Regions from separate parts of the Homo sapiens genome. Here all the other regions are linked to region 3. Evidence: promoter capture Hi-C in 16 types of primary human blood cells and fetal thymus (Javierre and others, 2016). All regions are on one chromosome and are shown on one strand. The core of a region is centred on a gene start or on the middle of the fragment in contact, and the rest is flanking DNA. Distances in the headings are between cores, read along the strand shown.

The links. The method cuts DNA at HindIII sites, captures the fragments that hold promoters and counts their contacts. A CHiCAGO score of 5 or more calls a contact.
Region 1: a contact is called between a fragment that was not itself captured here and the fragment with the promoter of BAALC in region 3, in 3 of 17 cell types (megakaryocytes, M2 macrophages and endothelial precursors). The highest score is 5.6, in megakaryocytes.
Region 2: a contact is called between a fragment that was not itself captured here and the fragment with the promoter of BAALC in region 3, in 2 of 17 cell types (total CD8 T cells and activated CD4 T cells). The highest score is 5.2, in total CD8 T cells.
Region 4: a fragment that was not itself captured here is called in contact with the fragment with the promoter of BAALC in region 3 in 3 of 17 cell types (megakaryocytes, endothelial precursors and M0 macrophages); the score reaches 8.6 in megakaryocytes.

The regions. Positions count from the first base shown.
Region 1 is chr8:103,445,787-103,449,780 of GRCh38, forward strand. No RefSeq gene overlaps it. Among named protein-coding and RNA genes, the nearest start is that of DCAF13, 32 kb to the left of the region's middle. The HindIII fragment of the contact is 1,812 bases long and covers 1,778-3,589 here.
Region 2 is chr8:103,533,026-103,537,106 of GRCh38, forward strand. All of the region lies in intron 1 of RIMS2 (regulating synaptic membrane exocytosis 2), which reads left to right. Among named protein-coding and RNA genes, the nearest start is that of RIMS2, 34 kb to the left of the region's middle. The HindIII fragment of the contact is 846 bases long and covers 1,875-2,720 here.
Region 3 is chr8:103,139,369-103,143,482 of GRCh38, forward strand. BAALC (BAALC binder of MAP3K1 and KLF4) reads left to right here and starts at 1,357. Exons shown (of 3, transcript NM_024812.3): 1 at 1,357-1,689. The coding sequence starts at 1,530. It overlaps LINC01181 (long intergenic non-protein coding RNA 1181), which reads left to right. Exons shown (of 6, transcript NR_145429.1): 6 at 505-987. BAALC-AS2 (BAALC antisense RNA 2) reads right to left here and starts at 1,974. Exons shown (of 2, transcript NR_027071.1): 1 at 1,886-1,974. RefSeq lists a silencer at 1,393-1,582. The HindIII fragment of the contact is 3,212 bases long and covers 1-1,943 here.
Region 4 is chr8:103,395,439-103,399,407 of GRCh38, forward strand. It overlaps SLC25A32 (solute carrier family 25 member 32), which reads right to left. Exons shown (of 7, transcript NM_030780.5): 7 at 3,200-3,969. Among named protein-coding and RNA genes, the nearest start is that of SLC25A32, 18 kb to the right of the region's middle. The HindIII fragment of the contact is 1,303 bases long and covers 1,891-3,193 here.

The sequences.
Region 1 (3,994 bases), core at 1,434-3,933, 310 kb after region 3:
AGCTGTTTTCTATAATCAAGTCTTTTACTCATCTAGAAATGGGAGCATGGTTTTGATCATTTTGAAATGCAACTTTATGAGTAAAAATCTTACAGAATAAAATGCACAGGTATGTTTTAAGGACTGAGGTTGTTAGGGTAGAATCCTGAGGAAGAAAATAAGGATGGTGGCAACAGGAAAGGGTTACTTACAGAGATAAAGAAACATAAGTAAATATAAAGGATTTACAGTAGCCCTTCAGGTAAGAAAAGTTATATCAAATGCCTTGTTATTAAGTCTTGCCACTTGGTCACTGTTTTGACTCTTCTCTTTGATGGACCCAGAGAAAGCAGGTTGCTATGCAATCTGTTCTTTTATATTCCCCATTCATCATCATATTTTTAGAGAAAAGGAGGGGGAAAGACTTAAGGGTTATCATGGGCAAGAAGAGTTAATCAGGAAATCAAGACATCTTGTTCTTAGGGAACATTCGTGGTCAGCTTGAATGTTTGAGCAATAAATTCAAAATTGATTGCTACCCAGTGAACATCGGTAATTCATACAGGGCCTTAAAGTCCCATATTAGAAAATACCAAATCAGTAGTTAATTCGAGGATTTTGAAACATGGATCAGTGTTTTCCAGTTTTGGGGTATTGTGACACTCCTAGTAGTGCTAATGGTGCATACATTTTAAAGTAAACATTGTTTGCTTTGATTCCCTTCCCTTAAAATTATTTAAATAGATTAAGTCAGGGCCAAGAACCTGGATGAATTAATGATTTATTGAATGAGCATTTTTTCATTTAGTCAACATGTATTGAGTCCCAGCTAGGTGTGTATGTTTTTTTAAGTCAAAGGCAATACCAGCTTCGTGGCCAGATGTCTTCACAAGCACTGAAGCCAGTATCCAGAAATGAGCTCATTATTTTGCTCCAGCCCCTAAATTTCATCTCCTATGTTCCCTGTCTCTGCATGACATACCATCCACAGGGATAGCCAAGACAGAAACCTGGGTGTAAGGGCACAAGTTTTATTAAATTAATACTATTAACAATAGCAGCTGATGTTTATTGGACATCTACAACACTGCAGATGCTTTACATGCACTTAATTTAATTCTAAGAACCACAAAAGGAAGGTCCTATTATAATCCATATTTAGTCTCAGTACTGTGCACTGAATCTATAAAAGATTCTAAAAGAGCTCAGTCTCAAAGGAAATAAACATGAAAACAAGTAATTGCAGCACATTATGATGTCTTAGCAGGATACTATAGTAGTGCCCAAGAGGAAAGCCTGACTTCCTGCTGGGGAAAGAAGCCCTTCAGAGGTAAATGGCATTTATCAAACACCGTTTGATTCTGGGATATTGCATGAGTGAGTAGAAATACAGTAGGGCTGTTTTCAAAATCTGTGATCCATCATTCAGATATGGCACTGTTAATGAAAGAAAATTCCAGCAATCTGTATCAGAAAGTCATTATCTTAGGTCAAATAATTCACATTTGTCCCTTGTATACATGGGGGATGGGTTCCAGGACCCTACAACCCTGTCCTGCACATACCAAAATCCATACATTTTTAAGTCCCCAAAGTCAGTTCTGTGGAACCCCTGGGTATGAGAAAGTTGGGCCTTTGTATATGCATGTTTCGCATCCCATGAATACTGTGTTTTTTATCTGTTTGAAAAAAATTTCTGCATGAGTAGAGCTGTGCAGTTCAAATCCATGTCATTTAAGGGTCAACTATAAGATTTGGGCTAATATTCTCCAGAGAGATAAGCGACTTATGGGATAGAAGCTTCATTAGGGTACTTAAGATTAATGGATCAGAAAGCACAAAATATAGATCTAGGGGGTCTTAGGGAAGAGGAAAAAAAGGGCAAGTATTAGGTAAAAATGAAGGTGGGTGTGAGAAATGGAGGCACGGAGCCAGAGCTGAGTGTGTTGCAAATCCTGTGGATGGATGGGCCCATGGCAAGATCAGCCAGCAGCGACAGAAGTAGGCTTACAGCAGGTGCACACACATGCCCGTGCATACTTAAAGGAACAGAGGGAAAGCCAGCAGCAAAATATATACAATACACACACACACACACACACACACACACACACACACACACACACACACACACACACACACACAATCTTCTGCTCTTTACCCTCCATAATTCATCCACCCAAGGAGAAAATCAGTTTTATCTGTAGGGCCAGCTTTAAAAATAGGCCTGGATGATTTTATGATTCTGTCTTCTGCCTTCAGTGAATAAAACATCTTTGCTGCAACTGAACACAAAGATTAAAAATACAATGGTTAGTTGAGTAAATAGTTTTCTTGTAGACTGGGGATCATTTTGTTACAGGGAATGATATTTTCCTCAAGGCATTTCAAGCAGTTTGTGAGCAGGAATCTCACACAGAAACCCAAGTACAGGAACCCCAATACAGCTGGGCCAGACATCCAGGACTCTGGGGCTGGACAGTAGATAGCCACAAAAATGAGACTTTCTGTGCCGCTATTCTGTACGTTTTCTACTAATTATCTTGTCCTTGCTCCCAATTTCTACTCTTCCATAGCTTCAGCTCTTCATGTCCCAAAATGGCTGCCCCAGACTGACTTGACATGACTTTGCAGTTCCAGTGCCCCATCAATTATCCACTTACGTCTGTCTTTCAGTTTCAGTTCCTAAGAGAAGAAAACTTAGCTAGAAACGTGTATTTAGGGGCAGGGTCTTTTGTAGCAGTGTTCCATCAGAGGTCCTGGTTAGCGGCTTTCAGATGTCTACCTTTGACAGCTGTCTTAGCTTGGGCTAGAAGTAGGGGGTCTTCAAAATGAGCTGTGGGTAGGCAAGCCTATAAAATGCTCAGTACATATCAGTTAATCATCAAAATAAATAGCAATACCAAATCAGTATTTTCACATGGGGAGGGAGGTGAAGAAACTAAGAAGAAAGTAGCACAGGTGGCCCCGAGTCAATAAAGGGCACTGGAAGAGGGGCAAATCTTAACTTTATTTCCACTGCCTGTTTTCCTAGATCCATAATCCTAGGCTTTCTGACATACACCCCAAAAAACAGCTCTTAGGCTCAGTCTTGCCTCTGGTGCTACTGAATGAAATAAGAAGTATAATGAGGGCTTGGAATCCAGTTAAGCTCCCTAGACCCTCAGTGTCTCCCAGGTCTGGGTGTAGACCCCAATTGCCATCTTTTCTCCAAGTGGCTCCACCCTGAGCCCCTGTGTTGAGTAGTGTCATGGAACCCTGACTAGCTCCTACCAAATCTGCTTCCTCATGGCTGCCAGCCATGCCTGGCTTATTACTAGCATAATGGACACTTTGGTATATGTCTTTCCTGGTTCCTAAATTGAACTACCACACAGAAACCCTCCCTCTGTGCTCTGGCCAACCACCAATGAACCCCTGAATTCTGCCCAAACTTGCAAAACCACACTGCTGAGAGTACTGCAGGCATTCCCAGTAAATGCAACCCTTAATTGGCCAAGCAAGAGCTGAGGTCTTAGCATGCATTGCATCTGAGAAGAACACAAATTTTGCAGACTTCATAATTATCTCAAAGGGAATTTTATCTTCACTTTAGCAGGGATGAAATAGAAGCTTTATATAGAAGTGTTGCTCTCCAGCTAACACATTCAGGAAGCCTTGCTTTGCATCATTTATGAAGGTTTTTGTTGGTTTTAACACCTTGAACTTCCTTATGAAGATACTTGTTTCCCTCAAGGACTTCTTAATCAAAACATCACACAAAAGTTCCCTTAAACAATTAGAATTGGGAGGAAGATAAGCCCAAATATTGCGTTTGGCATGATAATACATGTTCCTCAAAGCTACTCTCAGTATTTCTAATTTTAATTGTAAAATTCACTTGGTTTTACGTGTGTTATCACGGCTTATAGAATCCCAAATATAAGAGTTTCAAGCTCGAATATAAGTATTAAGTAATTAGAACAAATATATTTGAGTTTAGTTTCAACTCTATAAGAAAATAGGTCAGGAAATT
Region 2 (4,081 bases), core at 1,048-3,547, 390 kb after region 3:
TGATCACAATATTCTCAAGTAGGGAAAATTAGAATATTAAAGTGGAATATAAGCTGATTTTCTTTACGAAAGTAATAAATGAAAATAAGGCTGTGACCAAAAAGTAAGTTTCTAAGTGGTTCTCTTGTTAGCCAAGCAAATAAATCCATTTAAGATATGGTTAGTTAATTAAATCATATTTGATTGCAGGAACTGAAAAAATGTATCTAGAGAAAATAAACATTAAGCCTTTTGGTGGGAACAGTTTCTCAAAGAGTTGAGGGTATTGGGAGCAGCATTTCTAGTCAGTTACAAAACACAACAAGTGATTTTTGAGTGGTTTTCCTTGACTCTTGGTGAATTGACAAATGTTATCAATACTTTTCTGTTGTTTTTTATTTTAGGAGTTAGTATTGAGTTTTAATAAGCCTCTGAATAGTCAGTGTGGAACAATTAGTGGCAAGAACATTTTCAAATAATTTGAGAAAACATTAATTTAGTACAACCTGAAGTGGAATCTGCTAAGATGTGTTAAAAACTGATAAAACATGGGAGGCTGAGGCAGGAGAATTGCTTGAACCTAGGAGGCAGAGGTTGCAGTGAGCTGAGATCATGCCACTGCACTCCAGCCTGGGGGACAAAGCGAGACCCTGTCTCAAAAAAAAAAAAAAAAAAAAAGAAAAAGAAAAAAACCTGATAAAAGATAAAAATAATGTATGGAGTAGAAAAAGTCTTAGTTGGACAACTTTTCAAAGCTTGTAAAAATTAAGGTGTTTAGAGCTTATGGTTATTCATTGTGTTATTTATGAGTAGATATTCTGCAGAAAATATTTGAATCATCATGTGTTACTGAGTCACTAGTGTCAACAGTGAACTTCGTTCCTTCTTGTAGATGTAACCATCATGACTTCTGTGCATTTTTGTCAGAAATTGAATATTATGACTCATTCTATCAAATAGAAGTGTGATGGTCTAGCAGTCATAAAATTTTATTTCAATTTTTTGAGCTCAAGGCTGACGTTGAACTGTTTCTGAAAAATACACTAAGCCCTGTTATTGAACACTGGATGGCTTTGGAAATTTGCTTTTGCTGCAAAATTGATAAATTTCTGTGTTCAACTTAGAAGCTCCACATATAAGGTAAAACTGTGCTTACATATGGAATTTATAAGTTCTACCATGGAACTTAAAGTCATTTCAATGACAATGTTTATCACAAATAATTTCAAGCTACTTTATATGCTTCCTATGCTGTCAATAGTTAAGTAGTGAGCTCCTCATTCCCACACAGATTTTCAGTTGATATATTTTCCAAGCTCAGACTATAGTATCAACCTAATTTTTCAGACTTTGAAGCAAGTACAAAAGACATATACATATTTCAAAATTTATTTAACTGTGTAATTGAAGAGTTAATATCCAACTTTCATCTGCAATGTATGATGTATAACATGCTAAAAGGCAAATGTCTAGAGAAGTCTCAAACTCAATTCTATAAGTATCCTCTAAGTGATGAATATCATCAATTAAAAACATTCTCATTGTTTGATATCAGTACGTATTTGTATTTCCTATCTGTGCAAAAATATATTACTAAAATGAAATACATAAAATCATATTACAGATCAGCATTAACAACAGGACATTTGCAATTGATTTGGATCATTTGGAATACTAACTTTGAATCCCAATTGAGTGAAATATTTTCCCCCCAAAGAGAATTCCATTATTCTCATCAGTAGACCTGTATTATTACATTCAATTATTTGAATTTTATCAATAAGGGTTTTGTAGAAATTTGTTTTTTATTGTTCTGTTAGCACTACACATTATCCTTAATTTTGCCTTTTGACTTACAAAGCCTTATTTACTGTCTGGCACTTTACAGGAAAAAAAGCTTGCCAACCCTTGATTTAGGCCAGTAAAAAATACCAGTTGAGACTTATTTGAAATCTTTACATTGTATTGATTTTCTTCTTTGAATGAACAAGAGAAATTTATTTCTCTTTAGCTTGAAAATATCCAGTTTACTGTTGCCTCTTTCTGGCTAAAAGAATGTTTTTTTGCCTTTGAATATAAATTGTTATTTACGACTTTAGAATGTACTTATATATGGTTAATTTCAACAACTACCTTTATCATCAGCTCTGAATGTCAGAACTTTCTCTTTGTGAAATTTTATCCTAGTCATGTAAGCATTAGCTGTAGCAGAGGTTATGCTAGCAGAAGTAGAGTAAGTTTGGAGGAGGAGTATAAATGCTTCCTCTTCTCTTGCTATGCAGCCTATCGATTGCCCTTAATTATTTCTACATAGTTTGGCAATGAGCTATACTGCTAGAAAAGCCTTCTCTCTACCTAGACTTTTGACTCTGATATTAGAAACTACCAGGAACCTTGCTCAGAAATGTGATTATTCATTCCATAGGTGGCAGATCAGGCTCAAGTATATCTACAGGATTTTAATACTGTAATGTGTAGCCCCATTATTGAGTCGATTACAGCTAGAAGAACTGATTTGAATGCCCGCAGAGCTTTGCCAGAATTCAACGTTAGCTTTTGGCTAGACTCCAGGAGCCAGTGGTGTACTTTGGCCATCTGTTCTGCTTCCTCACCTTCAGTTCTTCCCAAACTGTGGGGCAACAATTTGGTGCATTTTGATTAATGATAGGTTTAGCAATGGGTGATGGCTTAGTCTTTCAGGTAGCTAAATGTGACAAGATAAGTAGAGCTCAACTTTAATAAGCTTCTGAATACTCTGAGATTCGAGTGATGAAGAGAATGTGAAATCACATAAGGAACAAAGTTCAGAAGGAGCTAACATGTATAGAGCAGTAGGCATGGTGTGAGGTGCTTTATGTGTATCATTTTATTATAGCAAAAAATCCAGGGGGAAGTTGCTACCATGCTTATTTTATAGGTGGAACTCAGAGTTCAAGTAATTACAGTAGCAGGTAGTATGTTAAAAGCCAAGTCCATCTGTCTTCAATACTTGTATTCTTATGATATAGTTGACACAAGTAGAGACTATAGCAAAAGTAGAAGCAGCTAATAATAAAATAGTAGTTTGGGTCACCTCTGACTTTAGTGTCATCATATTGTGTTTTACTGGGGAGCCAATTATTTGGTTCAGACTTATTTTCTGGGAATGGAAACTGCAGAGATATTCTGATAACCTACTTTGGTTGTAGTAAGTTCTAGAAAGATGCTCTCTTGACTTTGTGTTAGCAGAAACAAACAAGGGCACTTTTGTGTGTATGGGACCAAATTAAAAATTTAAAGTTTATTTAAATACTTTTATAAATGTGATTTATGGCAGAGAAGACTTTAAGACTCTCCATGGACCTAAGAACAAGCAGTAAGAAAGGAGAAGTATTAATGCAGAGTATAGAAACGGTGAAATAATCTTAAGATGTACATTGGTCACTGTATCAGTCCATTCTTGCATTGCTGTAAAGGAATACCTGAGACTAGGTAATTTATAAAGAAAAGCAGGTTAATTTAATTAACCTCATGGTTCCTCAGGCTGTACAGGAAGCATGATGCTGACGTCTGCTCGGTTTCTGGGGAGACCTTTCAATCATGGTGGAAGGTGAGGGGGAAGCAGGCACATCTTGCATGGCCAGAGCAAGAGCAAGAGACACTGAAGGGGGAGGTGCTATACGCTTTTAAATAGCTAGATCTTGCAAAAACTCACTAACCATCATGAGAACAGCACCAGGAAGTGGTGCTAAACTATTCATGAGAGCTCTGCCCCTATGATCCAATCACCTCCCACCAGGTCCCACCCTCCAACACTGGGGATCACAATTCGATGTGAGATTTAGGTTGGGACATAGATCCAAAACATATCAGTCACACTTTGAATAATGTCTATTTTTGGATTGTAAATTTAAAAATGACAAGAACTATAACAAAGGAAAACTGCAACACTTGACAATAGGTTGTAAAACAAAAACCAAACTCACAACTGATAAATTAATTCTCTGATCTATTCATTGAACTTTTAATTCACTATATGGCAGCATATTTGCCAGGCACTGGGGATACATAGATGAAGAAGACATGGTTTTTGTCCTAATCTCTATTAAGTCTCAGTTTCTCA
Region 3 (4,114 bases), core at 107-2,606:
GTGAGTGCCTGCCAGAGGAATGTCTGACAGCTCTACCCTCAACTGGATCATCTTTAGCCCAAATTACAATAATTTAAGTGAATCAAATTACTATAAAAAGATACTTCATTATTAATTCACTGGACATTTACTGAGGGCCTACTCTGTGCCAGGCAATGCTCTGAACTTGCCCTACCTATTGGATGCTACGTGCTAAATGTTATAGACAATGTACTCTCGTACATTCTATAAATTATATAGGATATAATGAGTACTATATTCTCTATGCTTTACATGCTATATTAAACATCACACCCTATAGTCTACATACAATGGATAATATACAAAATATATTATATATGTATTATGTCTACTAGAACAGTCTTTTGCCACAATAGGAATTTAGTAAATATACATTGAATGAATGAATGAATGAATATGATACTTAATACCATATTCTAGCAGAGCTTGGTCATTGAAGAGTTATTCTTCCAAACCCTTCCCTTTCCTACCCCCCTCTTGAAGGCTAAGAAGATTTTCATCTTTCACCACCTGTTCTGGATTCTTGGAACAGGTAAATTCATTGGCCTACGCAAGTCTGAGCTCTAGGTCTGAACCCGCATGGACCTGAGGGTGCACCGAGAAAAGAAAGGCTGACAACTGGATCCCGGGAATGTCAAGGCCACCCTGGGCTTGAAGGGACCGGCCATGCCTCCAAGCCTTGCCCAGAGAGGGGGTTCAGGATGCTGCGTGGTTCCAGGTGATCTATTGCTTTCTCGAGTTTAAAGTTCAGAGGATCATGAAGTACCACAGCTGGAAGGGGTGTAAGTGACACTGCCTAGCCTAACTCTCTTAAAAATCATAGCCCTACTCCTGCCTCCCCAAATCAGATACGACAGGCATAGGCTCTGACTGTTCCTTAAGTCTTAGTGGCAATACTCCCTGACCAGTTTTGCGGGGTTGCTCCCAGTTCCATTGCTTTTGTAACAGGTGGCCAGAAAGCCTGGGGTCCCGTGATAAGAGTTTCAGTTCTTTCCAGGATGGATGGAAAGAAGGAAGGAAGGATGGATGGATGGATGAATGAATGAGCGGGTGAGCGGATGGATGGATGGATGGATGGATGGATGGATAGATGGGCCAGAGACTGGGAACGGTAATGCCGGCCAGACGGGTCCGAGCGCCTCGGGAGCCCCAGCCCTCCTCCGGCTGCGGGGCCGCTGCTCCTGCTCCCGGGCCGTCACGGAGCCCTGAGGGAGGGGGCGGGCGAGCGGGGGCCTTGGGGCGGCCAGGGCGCTGGGAGGGAGGACTGGGCGGTGGGGACCGGAGGGGAGGGAGGGCCTTGGAGGCGGAGAGGAGGGACGGGCTGGGAGAGGGCCCGGACTAGGGGCGGCGGGCACCGCAGGAGCTCCGCGCGGCTGCAGCGCGGGCGGGAGCGGGGACGCGATGTCGCCGCCGCCGCCTCCTTGCGGGCCGGGGCTGCGCCTCCGGGGCTGAGCCGCCGCCAGAGCCGACAGCCGAGCAGCCGCTGGGCGCTCCCGCGGCGCAGGAGGATGGGCTGCGGCGGGAGCCGGGCGGATGCCATCGAGCCCCGCTACTACGAGAGCTGGACCCGGGAGACAGAATCCACCTGGCTCACCTACACCGACTCGGACGCGCCGCCCAGCGCCGCCGCCCCGGACAGCGGCCCCGAAGCGGGCGGCCTGCACTCGGGTAAGTGGCCGGGCCCCTGCAGACCCTCGCCCGCCCGCTACCCCGGGCGCCTTGGCCCGGGCACTGAGAGAGGAGCCGGTTCCCTGAGGAATTGATGGCGCGGCGGGGGTGGCTGGGAGGAAGCAGAGGCAGGACCTGCCCACTGATCAGTGGACAGATGCAAGCCCAGGGAGTGGGGTCGACCAGAGCCCCTTACCGAAGGCTGCGCCGATGCCCCAGCTTCCAGCAGCCCAATGCTCTTTGGCCTTGTCCAAAGCTTGCTCGCTGGTCGGGAGACCGGTGGGTGGGAGGACAGCCCACCTCCTCCGCACACATATCCCTCAGCCACCCACCCCCTGATCCGCCCAGGGCCGCCTCCGCCCCGCTTTGGCCCATCTGCCATCCCCTGGCCACCTGCGTACCCAGCCGGGTGACTTCTCATCCATTGGCCACCTGGTGCCCCTCTCTCCCTGGATTTATACACAAGGCGCCTGCCTGGGATCGCCTGGGTGGAGTCTTTCTTGTCGCTTCCCCTTTTCTCCCTCTAGGAAATGAGCCCACTCGCGGGCTTCAAAGACCAGAATCCCAGTTTAGGTCAAAATAAATGCACCCCGCCCCATCGCTAGTTCTGCACTTTAGGTTACTTTTGGAGCAGTTGTTCCATAGCAAAGGACTTCTCTCCCTACCCTATGGTGTCCCAATGCTTTGCAGGAGGCAGGGCACACATGTGGATTTTGACTATAAATTAAATACTCTTGCCTAGGTCATTCCTCATCCAGCAGAAATCTGATAAAAGGAGATGCAAAGAATTGTCTGGTCAGGTCATAAGTCAGGATTTTATTTTATTTTATTTTTTTATTTTTTAGCAGAACAAGTAATTATAGCGCAGAGATGCAAACTGTTGCCACAGACTGACCTTTAATCATAAACATATTGGTGACATTAAAAGGAAAAAATCTCACTACTTATTACATGGATGTTGTCCAAAGCAAGGTCAATATTTGGATAAAAATGTTTTAAGTGTTTCTTCACCCACTGATATTATTGGCATTTTTGAATAATGAAATCTAAAATGGAAAATAGGGTTAATTTGAAGCATAATGTATAACATATGGAAGAGGAAGGAAATGCGAATTACTTTTACAAGGTTAAGAATCTTAAATCCATGCCTACTAAATAGAGCTGTCACTTTAATCAAGAATAGGTTTCTCCATTTTTAAGGACCAAAGCTGGCTCCTTTTCCACATTAACTTTGTGACTTGGTTTTATTTTAAAATTGAGGACTGTCTGTGAAAGCTGTACAATACATTACACTATATTTGTCTCCAGTTTTTCTGACTCACAGTGGCAATCAGAATGGTTATTTTGTATTGCCAATGCTTTTAGCAAGTCACCAAATGGTGTGTTGGCTGAATTCAGTGTCAGCATGAGGATAGATATGAGCCTTTTAGAGGGACCTGGTAAATGTTAGATGTGACAGGGTTTCCCAAGGAGGTATGGTACTTCTCAGCAGAGAGTCAAAGGCCAGAGATGTACTCCGAAGAAATAAGGGTGAAAAGATCTAGCATGAAAAAAATAATAATAAAAAACAACCAAAACCCCGTAAGTACAGCTTTAAGAAATGGTTGCCGTGGTGACTGGGAGTATATGGTGTGTGTGTGTATGTGCGTATATGCATATGTATGGGTATGAAAGAGTTATTATGGGATGGCTCTATATGTACATACATGTTCCTCACAACTTTCCTGACACTCCTTGATTTATTACTCTGCCATACTAATTCATATCCCATCCATCATGAGATCTGGTCACTGCAACAGGTGGGGCCTGGGACAGACACACTCATTCATGGTACCCTGCCAAACATGGGCCAGCCCTGCCAGAGAGGTGGTCCTGAAGGCCTGCATCCTCCAGAGGAGAAGCTCCACTTCAGCCCCAGGACAGCACCCTGAAATTGGCAAGACGCTTGTATGGGCAGGGTCATTTTAATTCCCTGGGAATTTCTGTTAGCCTCAGGGGAGAGGGATATTTCTGAAGACCAAGATTAAATCAAGGCCTTCTTTGGGGGTGTACTGGCATTCCCTAGGGCCTTTGGGAATGGCTTGACTTCTGTGGGTTTTTCAGACTGGGAGCTGGTCATCTTTAGTCAGAATGGGTCATCCGTGAAAGCTACAGATCTCCTGGGTTTCAGCCACCCTGGGAGACTGGCCAGGATTCTGTATTCCTTTCATCTTCTCTGCCCCCTCACTTCCACCTCACCCACCCCCTGCCAGTGCTTTACTCATGATTTTACTCCCAAGCTGCTGGGGGACACCTAACAGCCCCCAGTGGCTGCGTTGTGATAGGAGGCCAGAATGCCACTTTTTCCTGTTTACAGAAGTTGTTTTCTGATGGGAGAGGTGGGTAGGAGTAAATGAAAGAGCCAGTAGATTCAGGAGAGTCCAGA
Region 4 (3,969 bases), core at 1,292-3,791, 260 kb after region 3:
AGGGGGAAAATGTCTTTAAGAGTCACTGATCAGACCAGCTTAAGTAACTATGTCAATTCCAAACCACTCGTTATGAATAGAGATGGCACATTCAGGTCGGCTCTGTTTATTAGGGCCTATCTCTGGCGCAGGTGAGGCTGATCCCATCTAAATCACAAAACTGAAAATGGAGGGAGGGGGTAGGTTCCAAAAAGAAATTCAGGGTCCAGGTGAGGTAGCTCATGCCTGTAGTCTCAGCTATGAGGTGGGAAGATCCCTTGAGTCCAGGAGTTTGAGCCTGCAGTGAGCTATGATCACGTGATCACGTCACTACACTCCAAACTGGGTGACAGAGCGAGACCCCGTCTCAAAAAATAAACAACAACAAAAAAAGAACTTTAGACTACTACTCCAAGAAGGAAGAAGAGACGGATGCTGTGCAGCCAATTAACAGGTATTCATTACAGGTACTTCCAGAGTCTTTCTCCTATTTAGGCCTTTAGAATGAAATTTAAGACTTTAACCCCAAACCTCACATAGTTTCTGCATGTTACCTAACACATCTTTTGAAAACAGGCATAACGGTAACTAAATCATGTCATAGGATTTTCTTCCTATAAGCTATTTTACAATAGCTAAAGAGACCTTGTTATAAAAATGGTAATAATACATACTTTATCTGGAGGATTTTATATTAAGTGTCCACATTCAAAAGAAAATATTAACTCTGATGACTCATAAACTCCAACATACTTTTTAGTTGATATCCCTCTTTTAGTGTGTTTAGAAGACATGACTTTCTAAATATTGTCAGACTACAAAAGCACGTATTGAAATATGATAGTCTTCTTTTCACAAGGCATAGTACCCATCATTGTCCATTGTCTTTGATTACATTCTCTGGTGCACAGCTCCAGCAAGTTGGTTTTTTTTTTTTGTTTGTTTGAAACGGAGTCTCGCTTTGTCGCCAGGTTGTACGGTGGCGTGATCTCAGCTCACTGCAACCTCTGACTCCCTGGTTCAAGCTATTCTCCTGCCTCAGCCTCCAGAGCAGCTGGGATTACAAGCACGCACCACCACGCCCAGCTAATTGTTGTATTTTTAGTAAGTTTCACCATGTTGGCCAGGATGGTCTCGATCTCCTGATCTCGTGACCCGCCCGCCTCAGCCTCCCAAAGTGCTGGGATTATAGGCGTGAGCCACCGTGCCCATCCCCTTAGCCTGTATCTTTATCTTCAAGGGTTCTCCCTACAGCCATGTTCTGGTTTTCCCTTTGCCAACCTCTCCTACCTATACTCCTTCGTAGAACTGCAGTACCTTTACAAGCTAAAGTTCTTTACCTTCCTTTCATCTGCCAAAATCCAGGAAAGAAGAGCCCATAGTGAAATAAATACTTACAGTCACCCCACCCCCTAAGTTGCTTGCAATGTGTCATCAGCCTCTATAATTCAAATCTGCTTTATCAGTGGCATCAATCTTCATCCTACTGAAATATCTATTGGTTGACTAACACCTTCTGTTTTGAATTTGTTCCTCCTGTCTGACCAGTCTTCCTCTGTCACCCCTAAGCAGTAGCCATGTCTCTCTGTTCTAATTACTCTTACTTCTCTTTTACCCAATAAAGCCCACATAGGTTGTCAGGCTCTGAGAGTTCTCATGTCCTGGTCTCAATCTTCCATCTTTCTCTTCCTTTTCCTTTTATTATCACATTAATTGACAACTCACTGTTCAAGGCAGGTCACCTGTGCTTTCCTTTTTCCATGGTTCCCTCTGGAATCTTCATTCAATGCCCAGCTTAAATGTTTCCCCCTCCATGAACCCTGCTCTAGTTCCCCCAAGCTATAAATCACCACTTCAGACTCCATCGACCAGGTCCAAGCTGCCACCTGCTCATGACTCGACATTTGTAAAAGCTTCCCAACTAGTATTCCTGCTTTTTTGCCTTTCTCCTGTTTCCTCTATACAATCACCAGAATGATCTCTCAATCAAAACTCTTCACCATGGCCTACAAGGCCTGGTCTCTGCTAACATTTATTGGCCCAGGCACACTAAGCGCCTTTTAAAAATTCATTAATTTAATCCTCTCAATAATCCTACGGCTATGTACTTTTAATATCCTCATTTGCAGTAGATGCTGTTGGTGACTTACCCAGACCCCTTTCACAGGACTGGTGCACCCATACCCTAGCTGCTGTAGGTGTTGGCTGGTAAGAACTGACACCTCCACCCTTATCTGGAGGATTGCCCTTGGCTGAGGAGAGGTAACAGTCACTCCTCCATCCTTTCTCCCTGTAGCCAGTGGTCCGTGACAGCCTGATGTGGGAACCTAATGGCTCAGCCCCTTCAACTCTGGGCAGGACAACGCTGGGCCCAATTCATTCAGCAGAGTGCCCTATGAGTCAGGGTGAGGCTGCACTACTCCTGAAACTCTTCTTCCCCGGCCTTACCCTGCTTGCTTTACTCCATTACAGATTTCTCCTGAAAGTGCTCCCTCAATCACTTGCCCAAGAATCCCCATCTCCGGCATTGTTACAGAGGAAGTGATCTAAGACACCATTTTACAGATCAGGAAACCTAAGACAAAGAGGGCTGAAGTGATCTGCCTAAGGTCAAACAGAAAATGGGAAAGCTGAATTTTGAAGCCAGAGGGCCTGGCTGTCCCACCTGAGCTCTTTCCCACCATACTGCAGTGGCCACTTCTCCAACCTCCTCTCTCTCCTCACCCATCCCCTCTAGCCAACTTAATTCCTCCCTCAGGCCCTTTTTACTTCCTGTCCTCTCTGCCTAGAATGTGTTTCCTCTCACTGTGGCTCGCTTCCTCACTTCTTTCAAAATGTTCCAAATACTATCTCAGAGACCTTTCCTGACCCCAACCATACTACCTAAGATAGCAACACTATTCCCCCGTTCTGCTGTAGTTTTATTTATAGCATTAAATACCTGAAATTACATTATGCATATATTTCCTTTTCTGTCACTTACACCAAGATGAAAATTCCCTGAGGGCAGGAATATTGTCTGGCTTATTTATTGCTATATCCTCAGTGCTTGGTGACGTACCTGCCAAAGAGCAGGAGTTGAGTGACTATTTGTTGTTGAATGACTGAAATTGAGTTCTCTTCTGTCAGAACTCTTACCAGGCTTTGTGAGATATTCCTTACGAGTTCTTAATCTATAGCTGTAATTATTTAATGCATATTTATCTATCACACAAGCTTGTATGCTCTCAGAGGACAAGAATTATGTTTTATTCATTTGGGAGTACATAGGCGGTATTTAAACAATGGTGCTATCTTAAACACCAAATATCAACTGCAGTTCACTTTTTCCGTGTGGGGACTAATATCAAGATTTCATATGAATTATAGTATAATCCAGAAGTATGAAAAAATACATCATATTTAACTTATAAAGCATTCATCTGCATGTTATAAGATATTACAGTAAATACAATTAGGTACTTACCATTTTATCTTTACTTTAAAAACAATGCCTTTTCCAAAATATAAAAAAAAGACCTATTTTTAAAGAACTATTTAAAGATGGCTTTGAAAACAACACTTTTATTTACAACAAATAGATGGTAGTGCAACAGCACTCGTGGATGTTTACGATAAATAAAAATACTAGTATTCTGGCATCCTTTGGGTACAGGCCCTTTTATATTTATAGATGTCTACAATGACTCATAAAAGTAAAATCAATAAAGGCTATTAATTTGTATTTCAACCTGAATTTGAGAAACCAATGAAGATTAATCATTTATTTGGGATCTAGATCCATATATCTGAAAACTGAAGTATAAAGTTTCTCATTTCCATTTACCTTGTCAACAAACATATCCCAAACATTTCAGCATCTGTAAAAGGTGATCTATTTAGCATCTGTAATAAGTGATTTATAGTTATATATGCTAAATAAAGGTTGACACAGCTGGATCCTAGAAGCTCAGATTTTATAAATTTAAAATAGATTAAGTATTTATGCCA